4 separate regions of the Homo sapiens genome follow, and all the other regions are linked to region 4. The links are contacts of gene promoters, found by promoter capture Hi-C in blood cells and fetal thymus (Javierre and others, 2016). All regions are on one chromosome and are shown on one strand. Each heading gives the region's core, a stretch centred on a gene start or on the middle of the fragment in contact. The rest is flanking DNA. Distances are from core to core; before and after follow the strand shown. Region 1 has its middle 27 kb from the start of ARID5A. Region 2 overlaps KANSL3 (KAT8 regulatory NSL complex subunit 3). Region 3 overlaps KANSL3 (KAT8 regulatory NSL complex subunit 3). Region 4 holds the start of ASTL (astacin like metalloendopeptidase).

The links. Contacts are between HindIII fragments. The CHiCAGO score rates a contact against its expected background, and 5 or more counts as called.
Region 1: a fragment that was not itself captured here is called in contact with the fragment with the promoter of ASTL in region 4 in 8 of 17 cell types (total CD8 T cells, naive B cells, naive CD8 T cells and 5 more); the score reaches 7.7 in total CD8 T cells.
Region 2: a fragment that was not itself captured here is called in contact with the fragment with the promoter of ASTL in region 4 in 1 of 17 cell types (naive CD8 T cells); the score reaches 5.0 in naive CD8 T cells.
Region 3: a contact is called between a fragment that was not itself captured here and the fragment with the promoter of ASTL in region 4, in 1 of 17 cell types (naive CD8 T cells). The highest score is 5.4, in naive CD8 T cells.

Annotation. Positions count from the first base shown.
Region 1 is chr2:96,562,411-96,565,815 of GRCh38, reverse strand. No RefSeq gene overlaps it. Among named protein-coding and RNA genes, the nearest start is that of ARID5A, 27 kb to the right of the region's middle. RefSeq lists enhancers at 437-937, 1,008-1,508. The HindIII fragment of the contact is 4,621 bases long and covers 1-3,405 here.
Region 2 is chr2:96,628,613-96,631,842 of GRCh38, reverse strand. It overlaps KANSL3 (KAT8 regulatory NSL complex subunit 3), which reads left to right. Exons shown (of 21, transcript NM_001115016.3): 3 at 361-531. Among named protein-coding and RNA genes, the nearest start is that of KANSL3, 8.1 kb to the left of the region's middle. The HindIII fragment of the contact is 1,114 bases long and covers 1,062-2,175 here.
Region 3 is chr2:96,609,588-96,613,173 of GRCh38, reverse strand. It overlaps KANSL3 (KAT8 regulatory NSL complex subunit 3), which reads left to right. Exons shown (of 21, transcript NM_001115016.3): 7 at 240-356; 8 at 611-712; 9 at 821-892; 10 at 2,036-2,110; 11 at 2,291-2,448. Among named protein-coding and RNA genes, the nearest start is that of KANSL3, 27 kb to the left of the region's middle. The HindIII fragment of the contact is 9,937 bases long and covers 1-3,586 here.
Region 4 is chr2:96,137,097-96,140,459 of GRCh38, reverse strand. ASTL (astacin like metalloendopeptidase) reads left to right here and starts at 1,958. Exons shown (of 9, transcript NM_001002036.4): 1 at 1,958-2,078; 2 at 2,760-2,885. The coding sequence starts at 2,024. RefSeq lists a silencer at 1,054-1,143 and an enhancer at 2,034-2,103. The HindIII fragment of the contact is 4,955 bases long and covers 1,401-3,363 here.

The sequences.
Region 1 (3,405 bases), core at 261-2,760, 430 kb before region 4:
CAAATTCTGAATTAATTTGAGTTCAAATAGACAAGCAGAGAAGAATAGAAAACTAGATGCTGTGCTGTCATTCACCCATCAGGACATGACCTCTGGGCCATTAAATCCATTTGGCTACTTCCTCCAGTGTCTCCTTTGCCAGTCTGTGTGCATGTCTGATTGGTTGGTATCTCAGTCACATGCCTGCTCAATGGCAGCAAGGGAGTTTGGGAATGCAGGTTTTTATAGCTTGTCCCTTGGGAAGATGGTACTCAAAATATAGGAAAGGACCAAAATGGGGGCGGTCCAGATGCCCTCAAGGATATTGGGTAGCCATCAGTGACAGACTTGCATCTGGTGTTTCTGATGACCTTCCCTCATTCTCCCTGCCTGTCAATGGAAGCCACTCTCCTAGGGAGGACAGATTTCAGCTCTCTCCCTCGTTCCTGCCCCTCCCTTTCCCTTTCTCTCATGCAAATTCTAATCCCACTCTATCTGATTTAGCATCCCATTGCTTTCTATACAAGCACAGGTTTGACAGGGCCCAACAACGGGGCAGAGAAGCCTGAAAGGGCTGCCTCGTACATGCCAGGCATTGTTTGCATGCAAATGACGGCTAGGTTTTCCCTAGGGAATACCAATCAGATCTGCTTCTTGGTCCTAGTTCTTGAGTGTAGCTGGATCCAAAGCCATCGTCCTGAAAATTCTGGAGTGACTTAAATTCTACACTATGTGGCAAGCCCTCCTCTCCTCATCACAAGTCAGAGGTTCCTGACTTATTGTCTGGAAAGAGTTCTTCCCTTACCTGTGAGCTGGAAGGTGTTCCTTGGCAAAAGTGGTGGAGGATCCAAGATGAAGGACTCGGCAGAAAATCACACACACACACACACACACCCCACCACCACCACCAACAACAAAATACATAAAAAGTGATGGAGGAGAGATTCTGGCCACTAAAGATCAATATCCTTATATTGGCCACAGGGGGGTGATTAGGCTGGCCTGTCAGGTGGCCTTGCTCAGTGCAAGGGCCAGTGAGTCCTCCCACTCATCACTGACTTGGCAGGGGACAAGGCCCAGCCTATCTCCATAGACGTGCCTCTGCTGCCTGGACCCATGGCTGGGGCTCTTGAATGTTCACCATCTGGGACACCTGGATATCTGGCTGATGGTGTTGGAGTGGCAAATGGCAGAAACGACATCTGGCTAGCTTATATCCAAAGAAGGATTTATGAGGAGGATTCTCGGAATTCTCTCCAACTCCAGAAAACATTTAGGATCCTCTGGGATATGCAGGGTCTCCCCGGAGCACAGCGATGACCCTGACTGAGCGCCATTAGTCCAGTTAGATGGTGCCCCTCCCTGGCAGGGGTCGGGTAGTACTGGACCACTCTGGAGATGGCCATGGGCTGGCTACTGCAGCCACAAAGATGTCAGTGATCAAAAGAAGCATTTGATCAGCTGGCCAAGGCTCAGGCATCTGTGTTTGAAGGGGAAGGCGTCAAGGAGTCTGCAACAAGGTTGATGCAAATTCACACAAAACCAGGCACAAAACCTATTGTTGGTCCAGGCTTCCAGACTTGAATGCTACAGCTGGCGGTCACGGCCCAGCCTCGCCCTCCAGGGAACCAGGCAGGAGACATGTCCTAGTGTCATGGGCCTGGGGCCATGTTTCCATGGTGGGCACTGTGGCACTGAGACTGGACCCTGCTTCAGAGGGACAGGGACATCATTCCACCAACCCACTTCTCAAAGTTCTCAATTTGCATAGAAGGCTACTCTCAGGACCTCCCTTCTTCCCAAAAAGGGCAAAGGATGGCCCTGTGTTGTCCCACTGACAAGTGCTGAGAAGCAGCCAGCTTTTCTTTCTGTTTCTCACGACAGTTTGTGTTAGTCTATCCCTGGCATTCTGTGCACAGAGACCAGTGCTTAAAAGGAAAGGAAGGGGATGAAACAAGGGGTTTGGAAAGGAAGAAATATTTACATAGGAGTGATGGTCAAATATGTAATAACTACAATAATCTAAATATAAAATATATATTTTTTATTCTCTAAATAATATAAACACAGTTGACCCTTGAACAACATGGGTTTGAAGCGCTTGGGTCCGCTTATATTTTGATTTTTTTCAAAAGATGTAGTCGGCTCTTGGTATTTACTGATTCCCTATCTGCAAACAAATACAGGTGGAAGATGCAGTATTCTCAAGATGCAAAAACTCGCCTCGTCAGAGGGCAGAATTTTTATATAGGAGGGATCTGCAGGGCAAACTTCTGGACTTGGCCATGCACGGATTTTGGTATGGGGGGAGAGTCCTGGAACCAATTCCCCATGTATACTGAGGGACAACTATTTCTTATAAAACTGCTTGCCAAGTGATGTAAGTTGTAAAACAAACCATTCATCAGATCCCTCTGATCATTTCCAAATCACTCATTGGTTTTCATAAGCTGTTGGTGTGGTCTTTGTTTGACATGGGTGTCCCTAAGTTAGTACGTCCATTTCTGAGCCCACGATGGCATGGGGAGCTGTCCCAGACTTCCATTAAGCTGCTCCTTTTGTGATCTGGTATCAGAAGTCACACACCATCACTTCTGCCTTATTTTATCAGTTCATTAGTTAGATGAGTCACTAATTCCAGCCCACACTCAAGAGGAAGGGAATTAGGCTCCACTTTCTGAAAGGAGTACAAGATTTTGTGGGCATATTTTCCGCTACCACAGTCTGCCTGCTGGCCACAGATTATTTACACCCCTCACTGTATTAGTCTTCTATTTCTGCTCTAATAAATTACCACAAGCCTAGTGACCTAAAACAACACGAATTTATTATATTGCAGTTCTGGAGGTCCGAAGTCCAGTATGGGTCTCACAGCGCTAGAATCAGGTGTCAGTAGGACTGTGTTCCTGCTGGAGGGTCTAGGGGAGAATCTGTCTGCTTGACTTACAGCTTCTAAGAGGCACCCACATTCCTTGGCTTGTGGCTCCTTCTTCTGTCTTCAAAGCCAGCAATGCTGGGCCAAGTCCTTCCTCTGCTGCCTTTTGAGTCTCTTTCTCCCACCTTGTTCTTCCACTCTTAAGGACGCTCATGTGACATTGGGCCCACCCAGTATTTTCTTGACAATCCAGGATAGTCTATTCATATCCAGCAACCATAATTTCATCTGCAACCGGAATTCCCCTTTGCCATGCCCCCTAATATAGTCATAGGTCCTGGGGATTAGGATGTGGACATCTTTAGGAGGCTGTTATTCTGCCTACAGTCCCATATACAGAATATACTCACCCTGTTTAAAGATTCCCCAGAAGCCTTACCCTTTCCAGCATTGGCTTAAAATCCAGGATGTCATCATTTACCTGAAGATGTCACCAGATGTGGATGAGGCTTCTTGGGCATAATTTCTCAAGTATAGTAGTTCTATATCCA
Region 2 (3,230 bases), core at 369-2,868, 490 kb before region 4:
ACTCCTGAGTTCAAGCAATCCACCTGCCTCGGCTTCCCAAAGTGGTGGTATTACAGGTGTGAGCCAGTGCACCTGGCCCATATTTATCTTAAAAAAAAAATAGATGTTTATCATTTTTTATATAGACTCATTGAAAAAATGACTTTGTGTTCTTCCAGTACATACCATCATGTCTGAGAGGGCAGAGATCTAGACAAGTGTGGGAAAGATGACTTTGGATCAAAATTTTCTTGTGAATATAATGTGCTTATGCGTAATTTAAAGCTGACTGTATTAAAGATACATTTTTTGTCAACCAGATGATTGTTAAATACCTGTGAAGTATGTGTGGCCCGGTCCTATTTCCTCACCTGTTTACAGTGAATCAGACGTCCCAATAGATGTGGAGACGGTCACATCAACGCCTATGCCACTCTATGACAATCAGAAGGCACGCAGCGTGATGAATGAGTGTGAACGGCATGTCATCTTTGCCAGGACTGATGCAGATGCCCCTCCTCCACCAGAGGACTGGGAGGAGCATGTCAACAGGTAGGCTGCTCATCAGGAGGATGATCACTGCCCTGTAATTATTTTGTATCATCTTCATTGAAATAACACTTATTAGGACCTTATTTCATTTGCAGCAACACAAGTCAGAGTGTTCTCCAAAGTCTCACATTATAACTCTCAGTTCACCATGCTGTGTGTGAGCTCCTTGAGAGTAGGGCTTACATCTCAGCCATCTTTGCATACTTCACACTAGGACGTTGTCTGGCACACAGTAGGCATATAATGTTTGTTGAATAAATAAGTGAATTAAATTTGATACATATGACTAGCTCTGTAGTAGCTTCTGTTGTATAAGTTATGATATAGGGGTTACCCAAACTGCAAAAAAATGAAATGTACATTTGTAAGATATTGTGTTTAAATGGTTTATAACTAGGATGATGGAAGTTGTGAAGTCACATGAAAAGCTAACAGATGTTTGAGTGGCTTTTAAAAATAGATTTGCAGGCTATGGAGGGCACACTGAAGCCTATTTTCACGAGTATACTGGCTAGTTTTGTTCCCAAGCTTTCTACTGCCCCCAGGGGACTCAGCACTCCTCTCCTGGTTATTTGTCCCTGTTCATTTGGTAAACATTTACCTAATTACATAACAGCTTTTTGGGGATATTATTTACATACCATACAATTCAGCTATTTAATATGTACAGTCATTGGTTTTTAGTATAGTCAGAGTTGTATATTCATCACCACTATCAATTTGATAAACATTTTCATCATCCTAAAAAGAAACCTCTTACCCATAAACAGTTACTTCCCGTTTCCTCCCAGCTTCTCTGGTCCCTAGGAAGCACTAATTGACTTTTGTCTTTATAGATTTGCCTATTCTGGACATTTCATATAAATGGAATCATGCAATATGTGGTCTTTTCCTACTGGCTTCTTTCACCCAGCATGATGTTTTCAAGGTTTATCCATGTGGTTGCGTGTATCAGCACTTCATGCTTTTTATTGCCAAATGACATTACATTGTATGGATAGCCCACATTTTATTTATTCATTAATCAGTTGATAGATATTTAGATTGTTTTCATTTTTTGGCAATTGTGAATAATGCTATTATGAACATTTGCATACAAGTTTTTGTGTGGATCTAAGTTTTTAATTCTCTTAGTTATATACCTGGGAGTGGACTTGTTGGGTCATATGATAACTCTGTATTTAACCTTTGAGGAATTGCCAGACTGTTTTCCAAAGTGGCTGTACCATTTTACATTCCTACCAGCAGTGTATGAGAGTTCTAGTTTCTCCATATCCTTGCCAACACTTACTGATTTTCTTCTTTTTTAAAAAAATTATAACCATTCTACTGCGTGTAAAGTGGCATCTCATTGTGGTTTCAACTTATATTTTGTTGATGGCTTTTTGTCTGTGTATCCATATATCTACTATATATATAAGGAAATGTTACTTCTTATATCAGGAGTTGGTAGGTGGTAACTTTCCATAATTTTGGAGAACCCTTATTTTATAATAGAGAGAAAGAGGGGTAGAAAGTTTGAGGTGATTGACATGACTTCTGAAGCTGGTTGGAAGTTGGGAATGAGATTGAACAGGTGTGCTTGTGTGATCAAAACAGCAGCTGTTGAGGGAGGAGCAGTTCTGCACCTTGGTTGAAAAAGCTTGTGAAGAAGTTGGTTGGGGTCTTGCATTGGAATTAATTTAGTGCCTTAAGAAGCTCTTTTCTCACGCCTGTAATCCCAGTACTTTGGGAGGTTGAGGCGGGTGGATCACCTGAGGTCGGGAGTTCAAGACCAGCCTGACCAACATGGAGAAACTCTGTCTCTGCTAAAAATACAAAATTAGCTGGGTGTGGTGGCGCATGCCTGTAATCCCAGCTACTCGGGAGGCTGAGGCAGGAGAATCACTTGAACCTGGGAGGCGGAGGTTGTGGTGAGCCGAGATCGTGCCATTGCACTCCAGTCTGGGCACCAAGAGTGAAACACCATCTCAAAAAAAGAAAAAAAAGCTCTTTTGAGCTTCAGATAAAGAAGAAAACTGCTACGAATGAAGATCAACTACTGGAATATTGCTAGAGTCAGTATATTCAGCAAAAGGATTTATCACTATTTTTACAGTTAATAATAAAAAATAACGACGATGGTAATAACAAAAAGGAGCTACCGTTTGTTGAGTGCTTTCTAGGTGCCAGACATTGTATCAATGTCTCTTCAAATGCATTGTCTCTTAATCCTCCCAATGACTCTTGGAGGTATATCCCCCCTTCATCTCTGCTCAACAGGATGAAGAAACTGAGCTCAGGGTGTTTAAGAAACCTTAATTAGGAAGTGATGGAGAAGGATTTTGTTCAAACCAAGCAGCCTGACTCCAGAACCCAGTGTTCTCAACTACCATACCCTCTGCCTTAATTAAGGGCAGTAAGAAGAGATTAAGACCAGTTAGTGGTGGCTGAACAAGGTGGCCTGGTATGGTTATGTATCCCTTTGTGGTATTTTCTACTACCTTGTCCTTTGCAATTTCAGAAAGTACATAGGAGAACTGTGTGATTTTTTTTTTTTTTGTCAGTTTATCCATGGTTATGATTAAGAGGTTTTTGTGGACAATTCATACTTATCAAAGTCATTAGAGACTTAATAATACTATAAATACCAGTTTGTTTCTTTTTTCTTTTTTTTGAGACAGGGTCTCACTCTGTCACCCAGACTGCAGTGCAGTGGC
Region 3 (3,586 bases), core at 606-3,105, 470 kb before region 4:
CTCCTAATCTCAGGTGATCCACTTGCCTTGGCCTCCCAAAGTGCTGGGATTGCAGGTGTGAGCCAGCATGACTGGCCAGCTTCTTTAACTATTATTAATAATTTATTTTACATAGTGCTTAACATAATTTCACAAGCAAAGGAGCATTGGTTGGGATGAGAAAGGTATTGGGATACTTGGAATTTCATGAAAGGACACTTCTCACTCACTGGTTTTTGGGTGGGATTCTTCCTCTTTAGAGCAAACTCCCTGGCTCTCCGCTGATTCTCATCGCCTCCTCTGGTCCCTCCAGCTCTGTGTTTCCCACTTCACGCCGCCACCGCTTCTGGCAATCTCAGCTGTCCTGCTTGGGCAAGGTATGTGTGGGGGCAAGAGGAACTCCTTCCTGGCAGGGAATATAGTCTTGGAGGATTGAGGAGAAGAATATGTGGGAGGAGGTCAAAATGGGTAACTTGAATGTGGAGCCTCCTCTAACCCTTCTTTCATGTGGAGCCTCCTCTAATCCTTCTTTCATGTGGAATTCCAAGGTTTTGGGTTTAGGTTAGGTTAAACAGAATTGAAAGATTTGAAACTTACCTCTGCTGGTGTGGGGGCTACTTCTTTCCTTCAGGTCATCCCTGTAGCCACCCATCTGCTGAACAATGGCAGTGGGGTAGGAGTTCTACAGTGTCTCGAGCATATGATTGGGGCAGTGAGAAGCAAAGTGCTGGAGGTGAGAATGCCCGTATTTCAGTACATTGTGGCATACCCAGCATTCTGGGGTTGTTCTGCACCTATCTTTGGCCTCCTGTCTTACTGTCTTCTTTCTCTTCCCATGAAGATTCACAGCCATTTCCCACACAAACCCATTATCTTGATTGGCTGGAACACAGGAGCTTTGGTGGCCTGTCATGTAAGTAATTTCTATCTTATTTGGAGGTTGTCCTGGGATGGAATACCACTAATCATAGCTACCATTGAGTCCTTTACTGTGTGTCAGGCTCTGCGCTAGATACTTTACCTATATAATTACATTTTAAACTGTAGAAGACAAATTTTATTAAAACAATTTTTAATTTATTTTGGAAAACTTTAAGCAGAAACAAAAGCAGGTGTAGTATAATAAACCCCCGGATCCTCACCCAGCTTTACCAGTGATCAACTCTTGGCTGGGCTTGTTTCATCTCACCCTGCTCATTTTCTTTCTCCCCTAGATTGTTTTGAAGAAAATCCCAAATATAATAGCATTTTCACATACACACACACACACACACACACACACACACACACATATGGGTATATATCTGTGGAAAAAAAAAAAAGATCCCTTTTTTTCTCTAAACATAAGTACCATACTGTTCTCCCACCTAAAAAACAACAGTAATTGTAGCTGGCAAATATTAATAGCTCTGGAATTTGATGCTGTGTTCATTTCAGTCTTTTTCCAAGACATCAAGGAATCTTTTCGTATTTTACATATATTTGTATGTCTGTCAGTTTGTGTAAGTGTCCCTCATGTCCAAACCCTTAATTTTGCTTCATGCAGTCCAATCAAGTGTGATAGCTATGAGAGGAAGAAGGTCCCCATAGTCCCTGCTCCCAGGGTGTTAGGCCTTAGCAGTTTGCTCCAAGAAATCTAGGCTGTCTGGTAGCTATCCATTAAGTTCAATAGAGAGAATTTTTTTTCACTTAAGGGTTAATGGCAACATTGTGTTCTCTTGACTATATTTACTATTTGTGGAGAAAAATGGAGCAGGAGGGCTCTAGTTGAGGGGGTTGACAGGGTAGGAATACTGAACCTTCTATCCTATGGTTCAGCCACCTGCTGGGGTCCTCTTAGGGCCCCAGTTCTCTAGGTAGTGGCTGCTTATGGAATGACATACCTTGTGTCTTGTGCTCTTACTGCTGCCATTGTGGCAGAAGATGCACCCGGATATTAGGACAGGAGAGGAAGAGGTGAGACTGTCTGGTGGGTCTGGACCACTCCTGGATTCTGGGTAGGCTGAGGTGCCATGAACTCAGTTGACGTTTAGACAAACTGTTCTGTTATTTACAGGTGTCAGTAATGGAGTATGTCACTGCAGTTGTCTGCCTTGGGTTTCCTCTGCTTACTGTGGATGGCCCCAGAGGGGTAAGAATGTGGTAAAGCTGAGTGCTGGGTCATTGGCAGTGGGAGCGCGAGTGTGCATGCCTTGTCCAAGCTGATGCTGAGGCTGACTGCAGTTGCATGGCTGATCCTCCTTAGTGGAGTTTCTGGGTCAGTGCTTTGTGAATATGAAGAAGCCGATTCTAAAACCTATACCTGTTTTAGGATGTAGATGATCCCCTCTTGGATATGAAGACTCCAGTCCTCTTTGTCATTGGTCAGAATTCCCTTCAATGTCACCCTGAAGCCATGGAGGACTTCCGGGAGAAGATTCGAGCTGAGAACAGCTTGGTGGTGGTTGGGGGAGCTGATGACAATCTCAGGTGGGTGGATTCTCCCAGAGCTGCAAGAGAGCTGTGTTACAGTGTTAGAGATAAGCCTGGAAGCTGGCAATGTAACTACAGACCAGTCTGGTTCAGTTAAAAGACAGCATTAGCCGGGCGCGGTGGCTCACGCCTGTAATCCCAGGACTTTGGGAGGCTGAGGCAGGCGGATCACGAGGTCAGGAGATTGAGACCATCCTGGCTAACACGGTGAAACCCCGTCTCTACTAAAAATACAAAAAATTAGCCAGGCCTGGTGTCGGGCGCCTGTAGTCCCAGCTACTCGGGAGGCTGAGGCAGGAGAATGGTGTGAACCCAGAAGGCGGAGCTTGCAGTGAGCCGAGATCCCGCCACTGCACTCCAGCCTGGGTGACAGAGCAAGACTCTGTCTCAAAAAAAAAAAAAAATTAAAAAAAGACAGCATTAAAAAAACCTTTTTTAATATTTGAAATTTCAGATTTATAAAAAGTTATAACACTAGTACAAAACAATTCCTATATACCCTTCACCTGATTTTCTAAATGTTAAACATCTTACATAGCCAAAGTGTAATTCTCAAAATCAAGAAATTAACATCTACATGATACTGTAATTTACAGACTCATGTTTCATCAGTTGTTTCCCTAATGTCATTTTTCTGGTCCAGCATCCAGCCCAGGATCACACTTGGATTTAGTTGCCATGTCTCCTCAGTCTCCTTTAATTTGATAGAGTTCCTCCATCTTTGTCTTTCACGACCTTGAGCTTTTTTTTTTTTTTTTTTTTTTTTTTTTTTGAGGTGGCGCCTGGCTCTGTCGCCTATGCTGGACTGCAGTGGTGCAATCTCAGCTCACTGCAACCTCCGCCTCCTGAGTTCTGGATAGAGTTGATCTATTAAGCTATAGGTATAGGAATTCTGGAGCGGACTGTCCTGGGCACTGTGCTTGGTTTCTTTACATATGTTATTTTGTTTAATCCCCACAACTCCATGAATGGGATGTTATGATTCCCCATTTTGCAGACACGGAAACAGGTTCGGAGAGGTTGCATTACCTGCCTAAGGCTAACATGGCCCTCCTTCTGGGGCTAGAAAATAAACAACCCAGAAAAGAAATACGTTCTTATTTTCATAGGATGCCGTGCAATGTGTAAGAAGTAA
Region 4 (3,363 bases), core at 709-3,208:
CAGCAAAATATCCTCAGACCAACTGCATGTCCTAATAAAGACTCTGTTTCTCTCCCCAAGCAGGGTGATTATTTCTTATCATTATTTTAATTCTTTTGTTTTTTGAGACAGAGTCTCACTCTGTTGCCCAGGCTGGAGTGCAGTGGCACAATCTTGGCTCACTGCAACCTCTGCCTCCTGAGTTCAAGGGATTTCTGGCTAATTTTTGTATTTTTAGTAGAGATGGGGTTTCACCGTGTTGGCTAGGCTGGTCTCGAACTCCTGACCTCAAGTAATCTGCCTGCCTTGGCCTCCCAAAATGCTGGGATTACAGGCATGAGCCACTGCGCCCGGTCTACTTTATTTTTTTTTACTGAACATTCATCTTTTTTTTTGAGATGGAGTCTCACTCTGTCCCCCGGGCTAGAGTGCAGTGGCGCGATTTTGGCTCATTGCAAACTCCACCTCTGGGTTCAAGTGATTCACCTGCCTCAGCCTCCCGAGTAGGTGGGATTACAGGTGCCCGCCACCGTGCCCAGCTAATTTTTGTATTCTTTTAGTAGAGATGGGGTTTCACCATGGTGGCCAGTCTGGTCTTGAATTCCTGACCTCGTGATCCACCTGCCTTGGCCTCCCAAAGTGCTGGGATTATAGGCGTGAGCCACCGCGCCCTCCTGAACACTCATCTTAAGTGGTCAGCCTTGTGCATTTGTTTTTTGATGGGTCCTATTCTTTATTTTACTTATTTTTTCTAGGTTTACTGAGGCATAATCGACAAATAAAAGTAGTATATGTTTAAGTATACAACGTGATGTTTTGACATATGCATACCTTGTGAAATGATGACCACAACAAGCTAACTAGCATATCCATGGTGTGTATCCTGACATCTGTCAATACCCTGCCCTGGCAGCAGGGCGTCTGCCTCCATCATGGTCTCCCTGTGATTCTGATTCCTATCTTTGGAGAAGCTCTGGATTCCAGGCACAGTGGGAATGCTGAAAGGTCCTTGTGGACAATAGCTATTCTTCTTGGCTCTGTCGCTTCCCTTCACTGGGTGCAGGTGACTGTGGGGGTGTCCCCAAATGCTGCCCAGCGCTGACATGCTCCGCCTCTGGGATTTCAATCCAGGTGGGGCCCTGAGTGACCTGGCTCTGGGGCTCAGGGGTATGGAGGAGGGGGGATATAGGTAAGGAGTTTAAATTTCCAAATCTGTGAAATGGGAATAAATACTGACTGATCATGCCAGCTGCTGTGGGATTAGGGGGTGGACTCCCTGCGAGGCTCTGGGCATCTGGGGGTTCCACCTTTCCCACATGGCAGGCTTTCTAGGGTGCTGCACACTGTTCAGTTTGTGAAATTTCCTGGAGCCCTGTGCTTGTGATAGTGAACTTTTCTATATGTGTACTAAAATAAAAGCTTGTGAAAGTGCAGTGACCTTTTCCTCCTTCCGGAGATACACGGGGGGCGCCCCAGGGTCTCAGGCAGCTTTCCCCATGTCTAAGCACAGGCCGGGGTAGGAAAGGGGGTCTCCCTCGCTGGAGGAATAGGTCTATACCTGGGCTGGGGCCTCAGCTAGGCCTGGAGCAACTTTCTGCGATGTTTCTCTGCCCCCTGGAGGCAGGAAGGAACCTCAGAAGAGCCACACTCCCAAGCGGGCCCCTCCTGTCTTTCACCTGCTACAGCCAGGAAGGGGACTGGGCTGGGGTGGGAACCACAGGTAGGCATCGGAGGGGCTGCCAGTAGACCTGGTTTGGGTGGCGCTGCCGGTAGAGCTGGTTGGGGCGGGGCTGCAGGTGGAGCTGGTTGGGGCGGGGCTGCAGGTGGAGGTGGTTGGGGCGGGGCTGCAGGTGGAGATGGTTGGGGCGGGGCTGCAGGTGGAGGTGGTTGGGGCGGGGCTGCAGGTGGAGGCGGTTGAGGGGAGCAAGGTGGGAGGTGGAGCAGCTGCTATTTAAGAGGGGGTGGTGGTGCCGGTTCTGCAATTAGGTTACTGTGTCTTGCTGGGGCTTGGTCTTGTTTGCTGAAGGGGCAGCAGGGCTCTACCATGGAGGGTGTAGGGGGTCTCTGGCCTTGGGTGCTGGGTCTGCTCTCCTTGCCAGGTAAGCTGGCTGCCTGTCCCTCCTGCTGCTGGCTCCAGCCTGGAGAAAGCTGGGGAGAGGCTAGAAGGTTGTGGCTGGAGCCTGCAGGGATTGTAGCTGAGCTCAGTAGCTCAGAGCACAGAGCTCTCCAGGGTTATTCTAGAAGTCAGCTCCTGGGGGGCCAAGGGGAGGCCTCCTGAAGGCCCTGGAAGCAGAGGGCCTGCCTGGCAGAAGATAAGTGTTGTGCCCCAGGCCTACTTGTCTTGGGGTGGGGGTAGGCTGTAAGTCCCCACTCCAGCCTGGTCAGGCAGGGAGTCATCCAGGCTGAGCCCATTGTCCAAGAGCCTGGGCTGAGAGAGAGTCATAAGGTGGGGTCTGAGGCTGGCCCTGCCCGTCACGGGCGTCAGAACCCGAGGTCTGTCCTGCCTCCTTCCTTCCTGCCCCTCCTCTACCTCATAGGTGGGGCACATGGTCCCTTTTGGTCCCCCTAAGGGAGCTCCTTCCCTGAGGTCATCTAGACCTTGGCACCAGTTGGGGTTGAGCAGGGAGGCTGGGAAGGCTCCTTGGCTTTGTGCTGGAGCCTACTCTTCCTAGGGACTGAGTCTTACCGTCTGATCCCCCACACCCACCCCATGTCCTGCTGTCTGGTCTCACCGGTGGGTGCTCCAGGCATCTGTGTATGCCCCTGTCTGTCTGGACCAGGTGTGATCCTAGGAGCGCCCCTGGCCTCCAGCTGCGCAGGAGCCTGTGGTACCAGCTTCCCAGATGGCCTCACCCCTGAGGGAACCCAGGCCTCCGGGGACAAGGACATTCCTGCAATTAACCAAGGTGAGGGCACTACATCTTCTCACGGCCTGGAGGGGCACGACGTTATGTAGTGTGAAAACCACACCGAACACTCAGAAATGCAGAGCCTGGGAGGAAATGGACCAGCTTACTCTGGGCTCTAAGTGGTTTTTAAGAGATGGAGTGGTGTTGCTATATTGCCCCGGCTGGTCTTGAACTCCTGGCCTTAAGTGATCTTCCTGCCTCTGCCTCCCGAGCAGCTGGGACTACAGGTGTGAATGGGTGGAAATTCTATGGGCAATTGCTTAAGTCTACTCTTTCTTTTTGTATCTTTCTTAGTGGATTGTTACTTTTATAAGAAAAACCAAGCTCTTAAAGGGCCTGGGCGTGGAGCTAAGCGGTTAGTCGCAGTCTGAGATTGTCAGCCACCCTGTGCAGGACTGTCTGCAGGTGTGATTAAGAAGTCTGAAGCTCAGCTGGGTGCGGTGGCTCTCGCCTGTAGTCCCAGCACTTTGGGAGG